3 separate regions of the Homo sapiens genome follow, and all the other regions are linked to region 3. The links are contacts of gene promoters, found by promoter capture Hi-C in human tissues and cell types (Jung and others, 2019). All regions are on one chromosome and are shown on one strand. The core of a region is centred on a gene start or on the middle of the fragment in contact, and the rest is flanking DNA. Distances in the headings are between cores, read along the strand shown. Region 1 overlaps TNR (tenascin R). Region 2 overlaps LINC02803 (long intergenic non-protein coding RNA 2803). Region 3 holds the start of TNR (tenascin R).

Region 1 (3,045 bases), core at 350-2,849, 170 kb before region 3:
TTTTATACACATACTTTTCAAAAAGTGTCTGCTTACCAAATAACAAAGATCAGCCTCAACAGATAATTGTTCCCCTCCTTTCTTTCCTCTCCTATGGTGCAGAAGGCAATACACCTAAGCAACACTGACCCTTGTGTGTAAGGACTGCAAAGCAGTGAAGGCATGCTGCTTCCTTCCAAGTGCTGATGGTCACAGAGGCACGGAAGGCAGATCAAAGGCCAAGAAAGCACATGAGCTCCGTTCTGCATGAAGATAAAGGGTCAGAAAAAGTTGACTATCAGCCTATGTATTTACTGAGTACCTATTATGTACTGTGTCAGCCATTAGGGATTCAGTGGTGGACAAAACAGATGTAGCACATTCCTCATGGAATTTAGTAACTAAGCAGTCTGGAGAAGTCATTGGTGCTATTGACCAAGTATCTCTTGCTCTCTGCCTTCTGGAGGCCTGGCAGGATTGCACTTTCTGGCCTCTTTAGGTTTGCTGGGGCCATGTGGCTTGTGAGTGGAGGTACACCATGTCACTTCCAGGACAAAGCTTTATTTCATTGTCAGTGTGAGACCTTCCCAAGCAATATTCAAGTTGGTGGCTGTTCTAACAGCCTGGGTCCCTGAGAAACTAAAATAAGCAGAGTCTGCCAGCTAACTTGCAATGGACAGGTGGTGTGAACAAGAAATAAACTTACATTGTTTTAAGCCACTGAGCATTTGGGAGCATTTTTTACTATAGCATAACCTAGCCTGTCCTGACTGATATACTTCTATCAGGGACCAACACCTTTATTGAGAATCCACTATGTGCAAGCCTTGTGCTAGGCACCGTGGTTGGATAGAAGCATTCATGGGTACTCATCTCTACCCTCAGCCTGTCACAGCCTGGTTGACGAACACATGAGGAACATGCCAACCATCATTTTTAGCACATAGACACCCAATAAATGTATTGGTTGCTAATAGGAGTCTATCAGTCAGAGGCTAAAGAGGAGTAGAACTCAAAGGAGAGAGAGAGAGTGCCTCAGATTGGGTAGTGAGGAAAGACTTTGTGGAGGTTTGGACTTGAGATGGGCCTTGAAGGCTAGATTGAATGTAACCAGGTAGACAGCAGTGGATAGAGCATTCCAGGTGGGAGAGAGCCCGCACCACAGTGCACCGGGGGACTGTGTATGATGGGCTTAGGAGGCAGTTGGTAAAAGTTGCTGTCCCCACACAAGCAGTGAGAAGGCTAAGTGGTGGGGACTGCACTGCTAAGTTGAACCAAGCTGGAGCCTGCAGATGCCAGTGGAAAAGTCATCCTCCTGGGAGCTGTGGGGGCAAAGGAAAAGGTGTGGCAAAGTGGATGGCCCAGGCCTGCTCTGCTAGGGGCTGCGATTCGAGACATCCTCATTTGGGGAGCTGTGCCTCCAGCCAGCAGCTATTTTTTCCCCTCATTCTCTGCAGAAGGTAATAACCCGTCACCAGAGCAAATAAAGTCTGATTTACATGAAATTTAATGCTAAGAATTTTCCTTTATTCCCCAGCACTGCTGTGGTAGGATGGCAGTGATGGCACAGCTGGGCCTGCTGTGTGCAGCTGCGGGATTTCACTGGATAGAAGTTTAAAAAGAAATTACTTTTCTGTGACAGGGTCTATCACCATGGGCAGGGGGCTCTCAGTCAGCTTGGCAATTTCCCACCGGTTTTCCCTGAAAGAGATGCAAAGTCAGGTGGAGAGAATTTGAGCAAGGTGGGAGGAGAGGAGGAAGTGCAGTCAGAAATCTATTCAGTATTTCCGGGCGCTGGTGGGTGATCCTTAGCCTCACTGCGACAGTGACTTGAGTCTCATAAAGCAGCACTGGTACCACCCTTGCACAGGCCATCATGATTACCATCTATCACCAATGATCAGAAATATTCTTTCAGGACCAGCCCTGACTGTACTAGGCACAGCAGCTACAAAGACAAGGCCACTGCCCCTAGGAATTTATCCTTAGTGACACCAGCTACTCACATAAAAGCATGATCTTTCCCCACCTCCATCATCATCCCACCACACCATCCCAAGCTTGTAAATACTTCATAAACTTTACTATCCTTTGCTAAATGTTCACCCTTTCACTTAGAATATCTGTATACATCCTATTCATTTTTTGAGACTCTGCATAATCCTACTTCATTTTTGAGACACTATTTTTTTAGATGCCACCTCTTCCATGAAGCCTTCTTAAACCCCCAAACCAAAATAAGGCTCCTCTTCCTCTGTGCTCCCAATTCACACTAATTACAACTTATTTTAGTGCTCATTATTTCTCTACTCTGTGTATGATAATTGAGATGCATGTGTTTTCCCATCACTGGACTCTGTAAAATCCTCAAAGACTAATATAAAGACCCTGGTAATTAGCCAAAGAAGGGCCATCCATTCTTTTTCAAGCATGCCCCCTGGGGGTTTCAATTCATTCCCCCACACCATATGCAGGGTGATTAGAGACCTTGTGTTATTCTCATCTGGCAGGGAAAGGGAGTTCATGCAGCGGGGTAAGCATATATAGGGTACAAGATGTAGGCTACAGAGAGTCTTGAATCTCAGGCTAGGGAGTCTGGATCCAACTCTAGAGACAATAGGGGCCCAGGGAAGAATTTGGGGTAACTGCCTTCAAGTAGTTCAATAACTTCCCCCACAGTTTGTTGGGCAGGTTGTGTCTTGTTATTACTTTTCTTTGTCCTTGGGATCAGCGTTTTAGGAGTTTGCTAGGTCTGGGAGTGAAGACATTTCTTTTACTTGACCAAGTGACCTGAGGATTCCCTGGTCACCCTCTTGGGCCATGACGGTTCCATTTCCGGGATCTCCCTGCTGCCTAACACACAACAGACAATCAATTACTCTTGCCATGATTTATCTGAGGCCACACTGGAATCTTCCATCTTCACTAGATGTCTGACACTGCCCCACACAAGCCTTGGTCAGTGTGGGTGCTCAGGAAGTACAAGTGGCTTGGAGGGCTGGGGGTGCGGGTTTGGGAGCGAGGTAGGGAAAGGGGCTGGCAGCTATCATACTGACCCTTCCTGCG
Region 2 (2,785 bases), core at 21-2,520, 160 kb after region 3:
ATTGTTTGCTCTGTTGCATGACAGACACCAAAGACATAGTTACTATCAGTGTGACTATACACACACACACACATATATATGTGTGTATACATATATATGTGTATATGTGTGTATATATATACATATATATATATACACTTTAAGTCTGGTTAAAATGGAAACTTTAGACAAATTAAATGATTAATTAATTAACAGAGTTTAATTGAGCAAAGCATGATTTAGGAGTCAGACAGCCCTCAGAACCACGGTAGGTACAGAGCGACTCTGGCACTGCCATGTGGTCAGGGAGGATTTCTAAACAGAAAAAGGAAAGTGAACAGAAAACAGAAATGAGGTACAGAGATAGCCAGATTAGTTACAGCTCAGTGCTTGCTTTATTTGAACATGGTGTGAACAGTTGGCTACCTGTGATTGACTGAAACTCGGCTGCTGTAATTGGCTAAGATTCAGCTATTTGTTACAAGAGTAGGTTATAGTCTGTTTACAAATCCAGTTAGGTTACAGTTCACTTTATATGAAGAAACTTTTAGACCAAATTTAAATATGTAAGGAGGCAGTTTTAGGTTAAACTTAATTTAACAAATCCTCTCTTTAGGCGATTGATGTCACTCTGTCGCTATCATAAACGTTCTTATTTGGACTCAAATCCCACTGGGAAATAGCAAAGCAGTGGAATTTGTAAGGTGGGAACAAGGACTTCAGGTTACTTTTTTGTAAGGGTTACTCCAGAAAGGGCTTTCTCTCTCTTTCTCTCTCTCTCTTTCTCTTTCTTTTTGATAAGGAGTTTCACTCTGTCGCCCAGGCTGGAGTGCAGTGGTGCGATCTCGACTCGCTGCAACCTCCACCTCCCGGGTTCAAGTGATTCTCCCACCTCAGCTTCCCGAATAGCTGGGATTACAGGCGACTGCCACCATGCCCAGCTAAGTTTTGTACGTTTAGTAGAGATGGGGTTTTGTTCTGTCGCCTACGCTGGTCTTGAACTCCTGGGCTCAAGCAAAAAGTGCTGGGATTACAGGCGTAAGCCGCCGCACCGGGCCAGAAGGGGCTTTCTTATGCTAGAGTCTCCTGTTTCAGGAGAGAGACAGAAAAAAAATAACCGTAGTCTGCTTTGGGATCTATCTGCTTCCATAGTTTCAAGTTTCAAGTTTCAGTTTGATTATGTCACATTTAGCATGAGTGACTCCATGGACCAGAGATTCTATTGCTGCAGTGTAGGTGGCAAGGGCAGTCTTTTTCTGATTTTTTCTCTTTCTTTCTTTCTTTCTTTCTTTCTTTCTTTCTTTCTTTCTTTCTTTCTTTCTTTATTATTATACTTTAAGTTTTAGGGTACATGTGCACAATGTGCAGGTTAGTTACATATGTATACATGTGCCATGCTGGTTCTGATGTTTTTAGAAGGCTCAGTCTCCAGGTTCTAGATCATAATGGGTTTCATTGTCTTCAGTTAGTGCATCATGAAAAGCTTCCTTCATCTCGAAAAAAAAAAAGTGCACTTTGGCATAATGCATTAAAGATTTGCAGCATTTAGTCATTTCAGAGTTTAGGAGCAGAGGATACATGAGGTCCTATTATTAGGGGCACAAACCTTTCAGTGACTATTTCATAAGGGGTCAACTTATATTTTCCATTGAAAGTGGATCTAATTGTAATCAATCTGCAATACCATTGACCAAGGAAATCCAGCCAATTCAGTTAACTTTGTCTAATGCTGTTGTATCTGTAAACTTTATTTAACTGTTTTACAACTTGTCCAGTGAAACAAATACCTCTATCATTGGAGATTTCTCCAGAATGCCCCATGAGGGAAACACATTTCCTAATAACCTCTTAGCCACTGTTATACCATCAGTCTTCTTGCATGAAAAAGCTTCTAAACATCTAGAAAACATGCACTGAAAATGGCAGAGAAATAAAATCCCTCTATAAATGTCCAAATGGCACATCAGGTAGCAAAAACCAGAAGTTTCTATTGTCTTCCATATATACAAATTGCAGAGCTTTTAATAGTGGAGGCTTTAAGGATGTAAGAGGGACCATGTGGTTATCCAGGTTCTCCATGAGTCCACATTTAACAACTAATTTATAACCTCGTAAACACCAATTTTGTTTCTCCAATACAGGTGCATAGCACTGTTTATTAGATGAGTTATCAGAGGTAATTTGGCTTGGACTATGGAGTTTATTGAAACTGCAGATCTTAACAATTTCATTATTGGCTTATCTAGCATGAAAATCTGGCAAAGTATTTCCTTGGTATTCAATTAATTCTTGTCTTGCTTGGATTAGCAGTTTTATAAACCAGTCAGTCTCTTCATTAGAATTCTGGGAATTCTTACCCAGCGCAAATGATGTCAGGGTCCTTTCTATCCTTTCCATGAACGTTTTAGGAGACACAATACTTTAGCAATTTACTTGCTTCTGAAGAGCTTTCAGAAAATGCATCAGGGCTGGGCACGGTGGCTCACACCTGTAATCCCAGCGCTTTGGGAGGCTGAGATGGGTGGATCTCTTGAACCCAGGAGTTCAAGATCAGCCTGGGCAACATAGTGAGACCTCGTCTCTAAAAAAAAAAAAAAAAAAAAAAAAAGGGAGAAAGAAAAAAGAAAATGCATCAGAATTAAGCAGTTAACTGTGGAAACAACTTAAAATAGTCATGGTTAAAGACAAAAATGACAAATAAATTTGGTTATTTCTGTTGCATAATAACCATAATTATAACCAATAACATAACAAGGCATATCAGAATTTTAGGAATCTCTTATAATTTTGAAACATATATTAATAG
Region 3 (2,806 bases), core at 63-2,562:
GAGTACCACTTCAAGCCCTCCTGAGTCTGGGACAAGTCTAATTTTGTTTCTGCTCACCCTAGACATATAGAGACAAACCTTTATTCTTAGTTGTTTTTCACTGCCAAATGCCCCAGAAAACAGGGCAGAACAGACTTTGTCTTCTTTCCAACCACCCATAGCCAAAGATGGCATAAAAGTGGAGGGTACCTCCTGCCTCCTTGCAAATGTAATATAACCCACACCAGCCAGTCTCTGCAAAGCTCAAGACACTAGCACTTTCCTACCACCATGAAGTCAGAAGGGACCTCAACCCCCCAAAGCCGCCCCAGCCTGAGCTTCACCTGTTGCACCTGCCCACTTACCATGGGTTCACACCAGAAGAGAAAGTAAAAGGTCAGGTTGGGCTCTCTCCACAGCAAGAGCCCAGAGAATACTAGGAAACTGACATTTTACAAAGCACCTCTTTAAAGCTCTCTCAGAGGTGCGTAACTTTTAACTCTACCTCCACTCCCAACCCCCCAGGCTTCCTTTGCAACTCTTTCCCACCATGGATGGCTTGTCGGGAGAGAGTTAAAGAAGGTGCACGACTAATTCCCCAAACCATCTCGCTTATCTACAGACAAAAAGAACAGCCTTACATGGAGACACGCAGAAACCACCCGCAATTTAGCTCAGACCTCACCTGTCTTATGCAACAGTACACACACACACACACACACACACACACACACCCGCAAGGCCAGAGTCCAATCCCCCTTTAATTCGGTAAACATAGTTTTGCGCCTTTCTTTTCCCTACGCAGAACCCGACTCTACTGGCAGCAGAGAAATAGATGTAACCCTAGTGCCAAATGCCTTGCAGAACACACAGATACACAGGAACCAAAATGCATCTCATAGCTCTCCTTGGTGCTGAAATCACGTTAGCCAGAAAATCAAAGGAGCGAGTGCTCTGGACTTACCCAGGCTGGGGGTGGGCGGCCGGGGAGCGAGAGGAGCTTCCTGGGAAGAAAATTCTTGCTTGCTCAGGCTGGAGCCAGCTGATGCGCTCACCTAGAGAGCCCTCCTCTTTCCCTTCTCTTCCCTTCCTCCTATTCTGGGAGGAAGAGACAAGGCTCCACGAAAGAAATGAAACCCAAGCTGTCAGGGCTACGGGTGGAAGGAGAATGAGGAGGCAACCAAAATAAGATCAAAAAGTCAGGTGGCTTCACTCCACTAGTGGTAATTCCTTGGGTCAGAGAGGACCCCCTTCTCTCACTCTCCCTGGGTCTGCCCGTCTCCTCTGGGTGTTGAGCCAACAGCCTTAGCACAGTCGGTTCCTGCCTCTGACGTGAAAGAGAGGAGGAAGCCTGGGACTGCTTTGCTGTCTCTCTCTCTCTCTCTCTCTCTCTCTCTCTCTCTCTCTCTCTCTCACGCGCTCTCTCTTTTCCCCTCTTGCTGAAATTTCAGCAGCATGATTTTTTTAAGCCTCCGTTTTTTCCATCCCCCTACAAGCAGCCCCCTAGTGGACAGAAAAGAAAAGCATCCTAAATCCTCTTGAACAGTCCAGATTCAGGCACAGAAATACTCCCCGCACCCAACTCTTGGAGCTGCCTCTGCATAGGCAGGGTCCTGAAGAAGATAGAGGCTTCCCTCTGACCAACCCAGATAAGAAGAGAAAGGGAGAGGATGGAAGCTTTTGCAGATCCTTTGCCCATGATTGAAGGAGAAATCCAGGGTGGAATGGGTTGGGATAGAATGTTTTGGAATAAGGTCAGTTGTGGGGTTCTCAAGTGGTTTGAGGTCCGGGCTCAGCAGAAGGAACCCTCCAAAAAGTCAGCGTCTGCAGCCAGGTGAAGTATGTGTATACGTAGCACAACCCAGGCATGGGAATGCCTAAAGAGGCAGAGGATACAGGGAGCTGGCCCTTCATCCAACTCCACAATATAGCTTTTTTGTAAAGCTAGTAAGAAAAATATCTGAAAAGATATGGCCTGAGATCATCTCAGAAGTAGAGACAGAAGTGACCTTGATGCACATTTATGGAGAACCTTGGCAGAGAAGGGGCATCAAGGGGTCACTGCTCATAGGCTCATAAGGGATATCTAACATTCTCTTTTAAATGTACAGCCACACAGCCTCCCGGAAAGAGTCCTAATACTTACATCTAAAAATCTGAGTCCTGGTTTCAGACTGCCACTTGCTTACTGGACATTTTGCTTCTCTATGGCTCAATTTTACTGTTTGTAAAATGTGGATAATGCTGCCCCCTCCCTACTGAATAGGAATGCTAAGGGACTGGAATGATATAGAAACATAGAACCTCAGGATTGGCAGGGAATTTAAAGGTAATCTTATACAAACACTCTTCTTATATTTGATTCACTCCTGGCAAATAACAATAGCTAACATTTATAGAGTGTTTATACCAGGTGCTAGGCACTGTTATAAGCCCTTACATGTATTAGCTCATTTAAGCCATACAATAACTCTATAATGCAGAGGCTATTATTGCTACTCTATAGACTGGGAACTGAGTAACAGAGGAATGAAATAACTTTCCAAAGATCACACAACTAGTGAGTGTCAGGGATGGTAATGGAACCTGAGCCATCTGACCCTGGAGCTTCCTCATTGAATTACCATGTTCTATAAATGTACACTTCAGGAGTGACATTTGAAGTAAATAGAAGATAGCACCACAGTTATCATTGCTTTTATTTATGACAAAGTGCCTAGATTGTTACAATAAATTTATATGTGGCTGAGTTTTTAAAATAAAATATTTACCACTAGGGGTGCCAAACAAACTGTGGAAATTGCTATTACCGATGAGAATCTCCTAA

Evidence for each region. The method cuts DNA at HindIII sites, captures the fragments that hold promoters and counts their contacts. A contact is called where the count stands out against the background at its distance.
Region 1: a contact is called between a fragment that was not itself captured here and the fragment with the promoter of TNR in region 3, in 1 of the 25 tissues and cell types used here (H1 embryonic stem cells).
Region 2: a contact is called between a fragment that was not itself captured here and the fragment with the promoter of TNR in region 3, in 4 of the 25 tissues and cell types used here (H1 embryonic stem cells, bladder, dorsolateral prefrontal cortex and 1 more).

What each region holds. Positions count from the first base shown.
Region 1 is chr1:175,574,608-175,577,652 of GRCh38, forward strand. The region is part of intron 1 of TNR (tenascin R); the gene reads right to left. Among named protein-coding and RNA genes, the nearest start is that of TNR, 170 kb to the right of the region's middle. The HindIII fragment of the contact is 3,604 bases long and covers 1-3,045 here.
Region 2 is chr1:175,906,211-175,908,995 of GRCh38, forward strand. LINC02803 (long intergenic non-protein coding RNA 2803) reads right to left here. Exons shown (of 5, transcript XR_001738304.2): 3 at 2,337-2,560. Among named protein-coding and RNA genes, the nearest start is that of LINC02803, 14 kb to the right of the region's middle. The HindIII fragment of the contact is 3,756 bases long and covers 1-2,785 here.
Region 3 is chr1:175,742,283-175,745,088 of GRCh38, forward strand. It overlaps TNR (tenascin R), which reads right to left and starts at 1,313. Exons shown (of 23, transcript NM_003285.3): 1 at 944-1,313. The HindIII fragment of the contact is 10,162 bases long and covers 1-2,806 here.